2 separate regions of the Homo sapiens genome follow, and region 2 is linked to region 1. Evidence: promoter capture Hi-C in human tissues and cell types (Jung and others, 2019). All regions are on one chromosome and are shown on one strand. The core of a region is centred on a gene start or on the middle of the fragment in contact, and the rest is flanking DNA. Distances in the headings are between cores, read along the strand shown.

The links. The method cuts DNA at HindIII sites, captures the fragments that hold promoters and counts their contacts. A contact is called where the count stands out against the background at its distance.
Region 2: a contact is called between a fragment that was not itself captured here and the fragment with the promoter of UPK3B in region 1, in 1 of the 25 tissues and cell types used here (spleen).

What each region holds. Positions count from the first base shown.
Region 1 is chr7:76,508,736-76,512,524 of GRCh38, reverse strand. It overlaps UPK3B (uroplakin 3B), which reads right to left and starts at 1,973. Exons shown (of 6, transcript NM_001347684.2): 1 at 1,788-1,973; 2 at 1,473-1,622; 3 at 643-868. The coding sequence starts at 1,872. LOC124901675 (a long non-coding RNA gene) reads left to right here and starts at 1,792. Exons shown (of 2, transcript XR_007060388.1): 1 at 1,792-2,001; 2 at 2,417-3,789. RefSeq lists enhancers at 1-609, 1,363-1,935, 1,936-2,508 and a silencer at 3,386-3,591. The HindIII fragment of the contact is 20,174 bases long and covers 1-3,789 here.
Region 2 is chr7:76,307,906-76,311,703 of GRCh38, reverse strand. No RefSeq gene overlaps it. Among named protein-coding and RNA genes, the nearest start is that of HSPB1, 7.1 kb to the right of the region's middle. The HindIII fragment of the contact is 4,912 bases long and covers 1-3,798 here.

The DNA of each region.
Region 1 (3,789 bases), core at 724-3,223:
AGGGTGAGGCAGCGGGGAGGGCAGAGGGTGGACCTGGAGAGTGGGTGAGAGGGCAGAAGGGGGCTGGGCGGAGCGGGGTGCTGTTCCAGCCTCACCACGCCCTGCCTTCCCGGCTTCCCCTGGGCCTGGTCTTCCTGAGGTCACCCCGCCTCCTCCTGTGTCCGGACAGTCCTGACCTGGACACACTGCCTGCTTCCCCATCCCGGCTCCACCCCGATGTTGGCAGGCCACTTGACCTCCTGTGCCTCAGTTTCCTCATCTGTAAGAGCGGGTAGGAGCCACCTCTCCTGCTCCCTGCCTAATACCGACGAGACTGGGTCTGAACTCGGCCCCCGAGTTTCCTGCCAGATCTGCCCGTGGTGGGGGACAGGGGCCTAGACTTTGGGGAAGCTGCCCCCTCCCACCTTGACTAAGATCCCGCCTCCCCAAGGTGCCCACCTGCTCCTCCTGGGCCTTGCCCGGCCCCAGCGGGGGTGAGCACTGTTGCTGACTCTACAGTGGAAGGAGCCCGGGCTTGCAAAGGGGAGGACCGGGGCCGGGGACCCCTCCCTGGAAAGATGCTAGAGAGAGCATCCCTGGTCCCAGCAATGCGTCCGCCCCAAGCACAGCCCCAGTCCCAGGGCTCCGGTGGGGACCACCCACCGATAGGGTCCAGGGCCAGGGAGGGGCGCGTTGCAGAAGGGCTGCTGGTGGCAGCCGTGGTCATGGCCCACCCGCAGCACGGGGGCGCCTCCGCTGCCCGCCATGGGGTCGCCACAGGGCAGCTGGTCCGGAGACAGGGGCAGCGTCATGTAGTGGCCATCGGTCAGCAGCTGTGGGGAGGCCGGAATGTCAGCCAGTGTCTCCGGGTTCTGGAAGCCCCTGGAGGCTGCAGGAGGAGAGAACAGATGGAGGTGGGAGGGGAGAAAGCAGCTTTGTCCTTATGAGTGGGGGTTCTGTGTTCGCCCAGTCTCCAGCCCTGACCCCCCATGCCACCTCCTCCCTCAGGGCCCCCAGAGATAGTCCAGACCCAGTCGACTTTGTTACCCCTGAAGGGGAGCTTCCCTCTGGCCTTTTGTCCCCACCCAGAGCCAGGAGTGGGGAGCAGCGGGCAGTCCCAACCTGCCCAGCCCCAGCCCCAGCCCCATTGCAGTGCACCGGCCCTGCCCCACAGGAGGCCACATCCTCCCAGGTCGCAGCCTCGGTTCCCTGTCCAAAGGAAGAACTACTTGGATTCAGAGAAAGGGTTGCAGAGCCCTTGACAGCTGACAAACCCACCACTAGCACTACTCCCGGGATTTGGTGTTCACTACGTGTGTATTTTTCAATACACATATTACCCCTTTAGATAAAGCCCAATTCATCCACACCTACTCTCCCAAAGGCCCCCACAGGGGCTCAATCATTGAAGGCGCTTGCTGGTGAGGGGCTCCTAGGGCCCACCACTCTCCTCAGCCGTCACCCTCACCCAGGCCCCACAGCAGTCCCCGTACCATTGCTGAAGGCCACCACGAGCCAGACGGTATCGCTGGCGCTGGCAAGCCCATCGAAGACACAGCGCGGCTGCTCCAGGGAGAAGGTGGTGGCTGTGACCTTCCCTTCCAGGTCCCAAGCTGTTATCTGTGGTGTGTAGGGCACCAGCTCTGTGGCCACGGGGGACAAAAGGTGAGCCACGGAGACGGGCGTGGGGGTCCCTGGGGCTGCCTCTCCCAATCGGAGGGGGGCGGGCGCCCAGGGTCCAATCACTCCAGCAGGGCCCCCAGCCCCTTGGGTCTGGCTGGACGCGTCCATCCAGGACCCCCACTCACCCAGGCTCAGGCTGGGCCGGAGACAGTTCAACGCCAGGAGGAGCATCTGCAGCCCTAGGTGAGGCTGCCCCCAGGGTAGCCCCATGACAGCTGCCAGCACCCGGGAGGCTCAGGGGCTGGTCTGGCTGCTTCGGGCTGCACCTCACCCCCAACAGCTTGGCCCTGGAGAAGCTGGTTAATCAGGCTGCCCCAGGGGCTGGAAAGACCTGCAAATGTAAGTGCACCCCACCCCCTTCCTCCCAGGCCAGCCCACAGCAGGGAGGAGCTGGGGGGACTCTGGTGGGAGGCAGGCCAGTATCCAGCCCCACTGCCAGGGCCAAGGGAGAGGGGCCACTGGAACCCCAGATGCCAGCCAGGCCATCCCGGAGCCTGGATTGGGGCCCCTCCCAGTCTCTCCGCCCTGGGGAGGAGGGTCTGGCTTTTGGAAACAGGCTCAGGACCACATGCCTGAGATTCCTGTGCCCCAGGTGCCAGGAGCCTCCCTCTGCCTTCTGTCCCCACCCAGAGTCAGGAGTGGGGAGTAGCAGGCAGCCCCAACCTGCCCAGCCCCATCCCCATCACAGCACGCTGGCCCTGCCCCCCACGAGGCCACATCCTCCCAGTTCGCAGCCTGGGTTCCCTGTCCACAGGAAGAAGAACTTGGATTCAGAGAAAGGGCTGCAGAGCCCTTGACAGCTGACAAGCCCGCCACTTAAACACTACTCCCGGGATTTGGCGCTCACTATGTGTGTATTTTTCAAGACATAACTCACATACCTTCACAACCTTCACAGCTCAGTGGCTTAAATATATATATGTCACCCAGGGAGGTCAGTTCACAGCTAACTGGAGCCTCAAACTCCCAGGTTCAGTTAATCCTCCCACCTCAGCCTTCCCAGTAGCTGGAACCACAGGCACACAACACCATGCTCCGGCTAATTTTTAAAATTTATTTAATTAATTTTTTTTTAAGATGGAGTCTCCTTTGTTGTCCAGGCTGGAGTGCAGTGGCGTGATCTGGGCTCACTGCAACCTCCGCCTCCTGGGTTCAAGCGATTCTCCTGCCTCAGCCTCCCAAGTAGCTGGGATTACAGGCATGTGCCCCACGGCCAGCTAATTTTTGTATTTTTAGTAGGGACGGGGTTTCACCATGTTGGCTTGGCTGGTCTCAAATTCCTGATCTCAAGTGATCCACCCGCCTTGGCCTCCCAAAGTGCTGGGATTACAGGCATGTGCCACCGTGCCTGGCACCCCCGCCAATTTTTTTTTTGTTTTTTTTGAAACGGAGTTTTCACTCTTGTTGCCCAGGCTGGAGTACAATGGCTCGATCTTGGCTCACCGCAACCTCCACCTCCTGGGTTCAAGTGATTCTCCTGCCTCAGCCTCCTGAGTAGCTGGGATTACAGGCATGTGCCACCACACCTGTCTAATTTTGTATTTTTAGTAGAGATAGGGTTTCTCCACGTTGGTGAGGCTGGTCTCGAACTCCTGACCTCAGGTGATCCACCCACCTCAGCCTCCCAAAGCGCTGGGATTGCAGGTGTGAGCCACTGCGCCCGGCTGGCCAATTTTTAAAAATGTATTTTTTATAGAAACAGGATCTTGCTATGTTGCCCAGGCTGATCTCTAACTCCTGGGAGGATCAAGCAAATCTCCTGCCTTGGCCTCCTAAAGTATTGGGATTACAGGCGTGAGCCACCGTGCCTGGCTATTTTTTTTTTTTTTTGAGACATGGAGTCTCACCCTGTCGCCCAGGCTGGAGTGCAATGGCGTGATCTCTGCTCACTGCAACCTCCACCTCCTGGGTTCAAGCAATTCTTCTGCCTCAGCCTCCCTAGTAGCTGGGACTACAGGCACCTACCACCATGCCCAGCTAATTTTTGTATTTTTAGTAGAGATGAGGTTTCACCAACTTGGCCAGGCTGGTCTCGAACGCCTGACCTCGCGATCTACCTGCCTTGGCCTCCCAAAGTGCTGGGATTACAGGCATGAGCCACTGCGCCCAGCTGCTAATTTTTAAAAA
Region 2 (3,798 bases), core at 1,005-3,504, 200 kb after region 1:
TAGCTTCGAACTCCTGGGCTTAAGAGATTCTCCCGCCTTAGCCTCCCAAGTAGATCAGACTGCAGGCACCACCGTGCCCAGATAATTTCTTATTTTTAGTAGAGCCAGAGTCTCACTATGTTGCCCAGGCTGGAATGCAGTGGTATGATCATAGCTCACTGCAGCCTCAACCTCCTGGACTCGAGCCATCCTCCTGCCTCAGCCTCCTGAGTAGCTGGGACTATAAACATATGCCACCATGCTCAGAATTTTTTTTTTTCTTTGAGATGGAGTTTCACACTTGTTGCCCAGGTGGAGTGCAATGACACAATCTTGGCTCACTGCAACCTCTGCTTCCCAGGTTCAAGCGATTTTCCTGCCTCAGCCTCCTGAGTAGCTGGGATTACAGGCAAGCACCACCACATCTAGCTAATTTTTGTATTTTTAGTAGAGATAGGGTTTCGCCATGTTGGTTAGGGCTGGTCTTGAACTCCTGACCTCAGATGAACCACCTGCCTCAGCCTCCCAAAGTGCTGGGATTACAGGTGTGAGTCACTGTGTCCAGCCCCAGCTAATTTTTAAAAACGTTTTTGGTAAAGATGGGGACTCACTATGTTGCTTAGGTTGGTCTTGAACTCCTGGGCTCAAGCGATCTTCCCGATTCAACCTCTCAAAGTGCTGGGATTACAGGCATGAGCCACTGCGCCTGGCCTTGATTCATTCTTTAACCCCAATCCCTCCTGGCAGGCTCTGCCCCCTTGTTCAGTCCTGGGGCGGTGGGCAGGGAGGGGGAAGACTTCCTTCTACCAGAGTCAGCTGCTGATACCATCACTGTCATCTTAGGCAGGGCAGCTGCTGTACCCAGCTGAGAAGAAGGGTGGGAGGGGCTGTTATGCTATAGGAACCCCGCCCAGAGGGAGTCTGTTTTTCCCAGGGTCCCCAGCTGTGCTCTTTTCTCCCTGGGCTGAGTCGAGAGCCCTGGCTGGACACTTGCTTTTTGTTTGCAGGCCAGCCAGGGAGGCTCTGCCACCCTCGTGCTCCTGCCCGAGGCCATCCCACGAGTCTGTTATTGATCCAGAGCCGTCCCTTCTCAGCCAAGCCAGGGATTCCCGGCATTTGTCACACTGCCAACTCTCCCAGCACCAACTGGCGGTTGGCAGGGCTGTCTCTTGTAAGCAGCCCATGAAAATATGGCTCGTCCTTGGGAGGCACAGTTAGATGGGCAAAGCGAGGTCCAAAGTCACCTGGCGAGTTGGAAAGGGAAAGAGAACCAGAGGTCTCGACCAGGAGGAGCGTGCCAGGAATGGAGTGATCTCTGCTTATGCGTGGGTCTCCATCCCTGGCCTCCTCAGCGCTGGCACCCAGGGCATCGGTTGATGGGTAGAACAGTGCACCCTTTGGGGTGGAGTGCACGCACCCTGCTCCTGCCCTGCCCAGACCTGCTGGGTGACCCTGGCCAAATGCAGTCCCAGTCAGGCCTCAAGTTCCCCTCTGTAAGCTGAAGGGTTGGGCCAGCCAGTTTCTGGGAAAGGTACCTGCCCAAACGAATTAGTCCACTGGGGCATGGAGGGGAACACCTTTTCTTTTTCTTTTCTTTTTTTTTTTTTTGAGACGGAGTCTCGCTCTTTTGCCCAGGCTGGAGTACAGTGGCATAATCTTGGCTCACTGCAACCTCTGCCTCCTGCGTTCAAGCGATTCTTCTGCCTCAGCCTCCCGAGTAGCTGGTGAGAGGTGACAGCGTACTGGCAGTCCTCGCAGCCCTCGCTCGCTCTCGGCGCCTCCTCTGCCTGGGCTCCCACTTTGGCGACACTTGAGGAGCCCTTCAGCCCGCCGCTGCACTGTGGGAGCCCCTTCCTGGGCTGGCGACGCCGGAGACGGCTCCCTCAGCTTGTGGGGAGGTGTAGAGGGAGAGGCGCGGGCGGGAACCAGGGCTGCGCGTGGAACTTGCGGGCCAGCGCGAGTTCCGGGTGGGCGTGGGCTTGGCGGGCCCCGCACTTGGAGCAGCCGGCCGGCCCCGCCGGCCCCGGGCAGTGAGGGGCTTAGCACCTGGGCCAGCAGCTGCTGTGCTCGACTTCTCACCGGGCCTTAGCTGCCTCTCAGCAGAGCAGGGCTCGGGACCTGCAGCCCGCCATGCCTGAGCCTCCCCACCCCGCTGTGGGCTCCTGCGCGGCCCGAGCCTCCCTGACAAGCACCGCCCCCTGCTCCACGGCGCCCAGTCCCATCGACCACCCAAGGGCTGAGGAGTGCGGGCGCACAGCACGGGACTGGCAAGCAGCTCCACCTGCGGCCCCCATACAGGATTCACTGGGTGAAGCCAACTGGGCTCCTGAGTCTGGTGGAGAACCTTTATGTCAAGCTAAGGGATTGTAAATACACCAATCGGCACTCTGTATCTAGCTCAAGGTTTGTAAACACACCAATCAGCGCCCTGTGTCTAGCTCAGGATTTCTGAATGCACCAATCGACACTCTGTATCTAGCTACTCTGGTGGGGCCTTGGAGAACCTTTGTGTCCACACTCTCTATCTAGCTAATCTAGTGGGGATGTAGAGAACTTTTGTGTCTAGCTCAGGGATTGTAAACACACCAATCAGCCCTGTCAAAACGGACCAATCAGCTCTCTGTAAAATGGACCAGTCGGCTCTCTGTAAAATGGACCAATCAGCAGGACGTGGGTGGGGCCAGATAAGCGAATAAAAGCAGGCTACCCGAACCAGCAGTAGCAAGCCACTTAGGGTCTTCTTCGTCAGTGTGGAAGCTTTGTTGTTTCGCTCTTTGGGTCCACACCGCTTTTAAGAGCTGTAACGCTTGACGTGAATGTTTGTAGCTTTACTCTTCAGCTAGCGAGACCACGAACCCACCGGGAGGAACAAACAATTCCAGATGCGCCGCCTTAAGAGCTGTAACACTCAACGGTGAAGGTCTGCAGCGTCGCTTCTGAGCCAGTGAGAGCATGAACCCACCAGAAGGAAAAAACTCCCGACACGCCGCCTTTAAGAACTGTAACACTCACCGTGAAGGTCCTCGGCTTCATTCTTTGAGTCGGTGAGACCAAGAACCCACGAATTCTGGACTCACCGGGACTACAGGCGTGCTACGACGCCTGGCCATATTGGTGAGGCTGGTTTCAAACTCCTGACCTCGTAATCCTCCTGCCTTGGCCTCCCAGTGTGCTGGGATTACAGGTGTGAGCCACTGTGCCCAGCCGGAAACACCTTTTCTTTGCTTTTCTTAAATTTATTTATTTTTGAGACAAGGTTTTGCACTATCACCCAGGCTGGAGTGCAGTGGTGTGATCATAACTCACTGCAGCTTCTAGCTTTTCGGCTTAAGTGATCCTCCTGCAGGTGCGCACCAGCACATGTGGCTAATTTTTTTTTTCTTTTTTTGCAGGGATGAGTTCTTGCTATGTTGCCCAGGCTGCTCTCTAACTCCTGGTGTCAAGTAAATCTCCTGCCTAGGCCCCCCAAGGTGCTGGGATTACAGGTGTGAGCCCCTGCGCCCAGCCTGCAGTGCCTTTCTATAGTTTCCACTACACATTTACAGATCAGGGACACTTTTTTTTTTTCCTGAAAGTTTTGCTCTGTTGCCCAGGCTGGAGTGCAGTGGCCTGATCTCAGCTCACTGCAACCTCTTGAGTAGCTGGGATTACAGGCGTGCGCCACCACACCCGGCTAATTTTTGTATTTTTAGTAGAGACGGGTTTTGCCATGTTGGCCAGGCTGGTCTTGAATTCCTGACCTCAGCTAATCTGCCCCCTTCAGCCTCCCAAAGTGCTGCGATTACAGGGGTGAGCCACCACGCCCAGCCAGATCAGGGA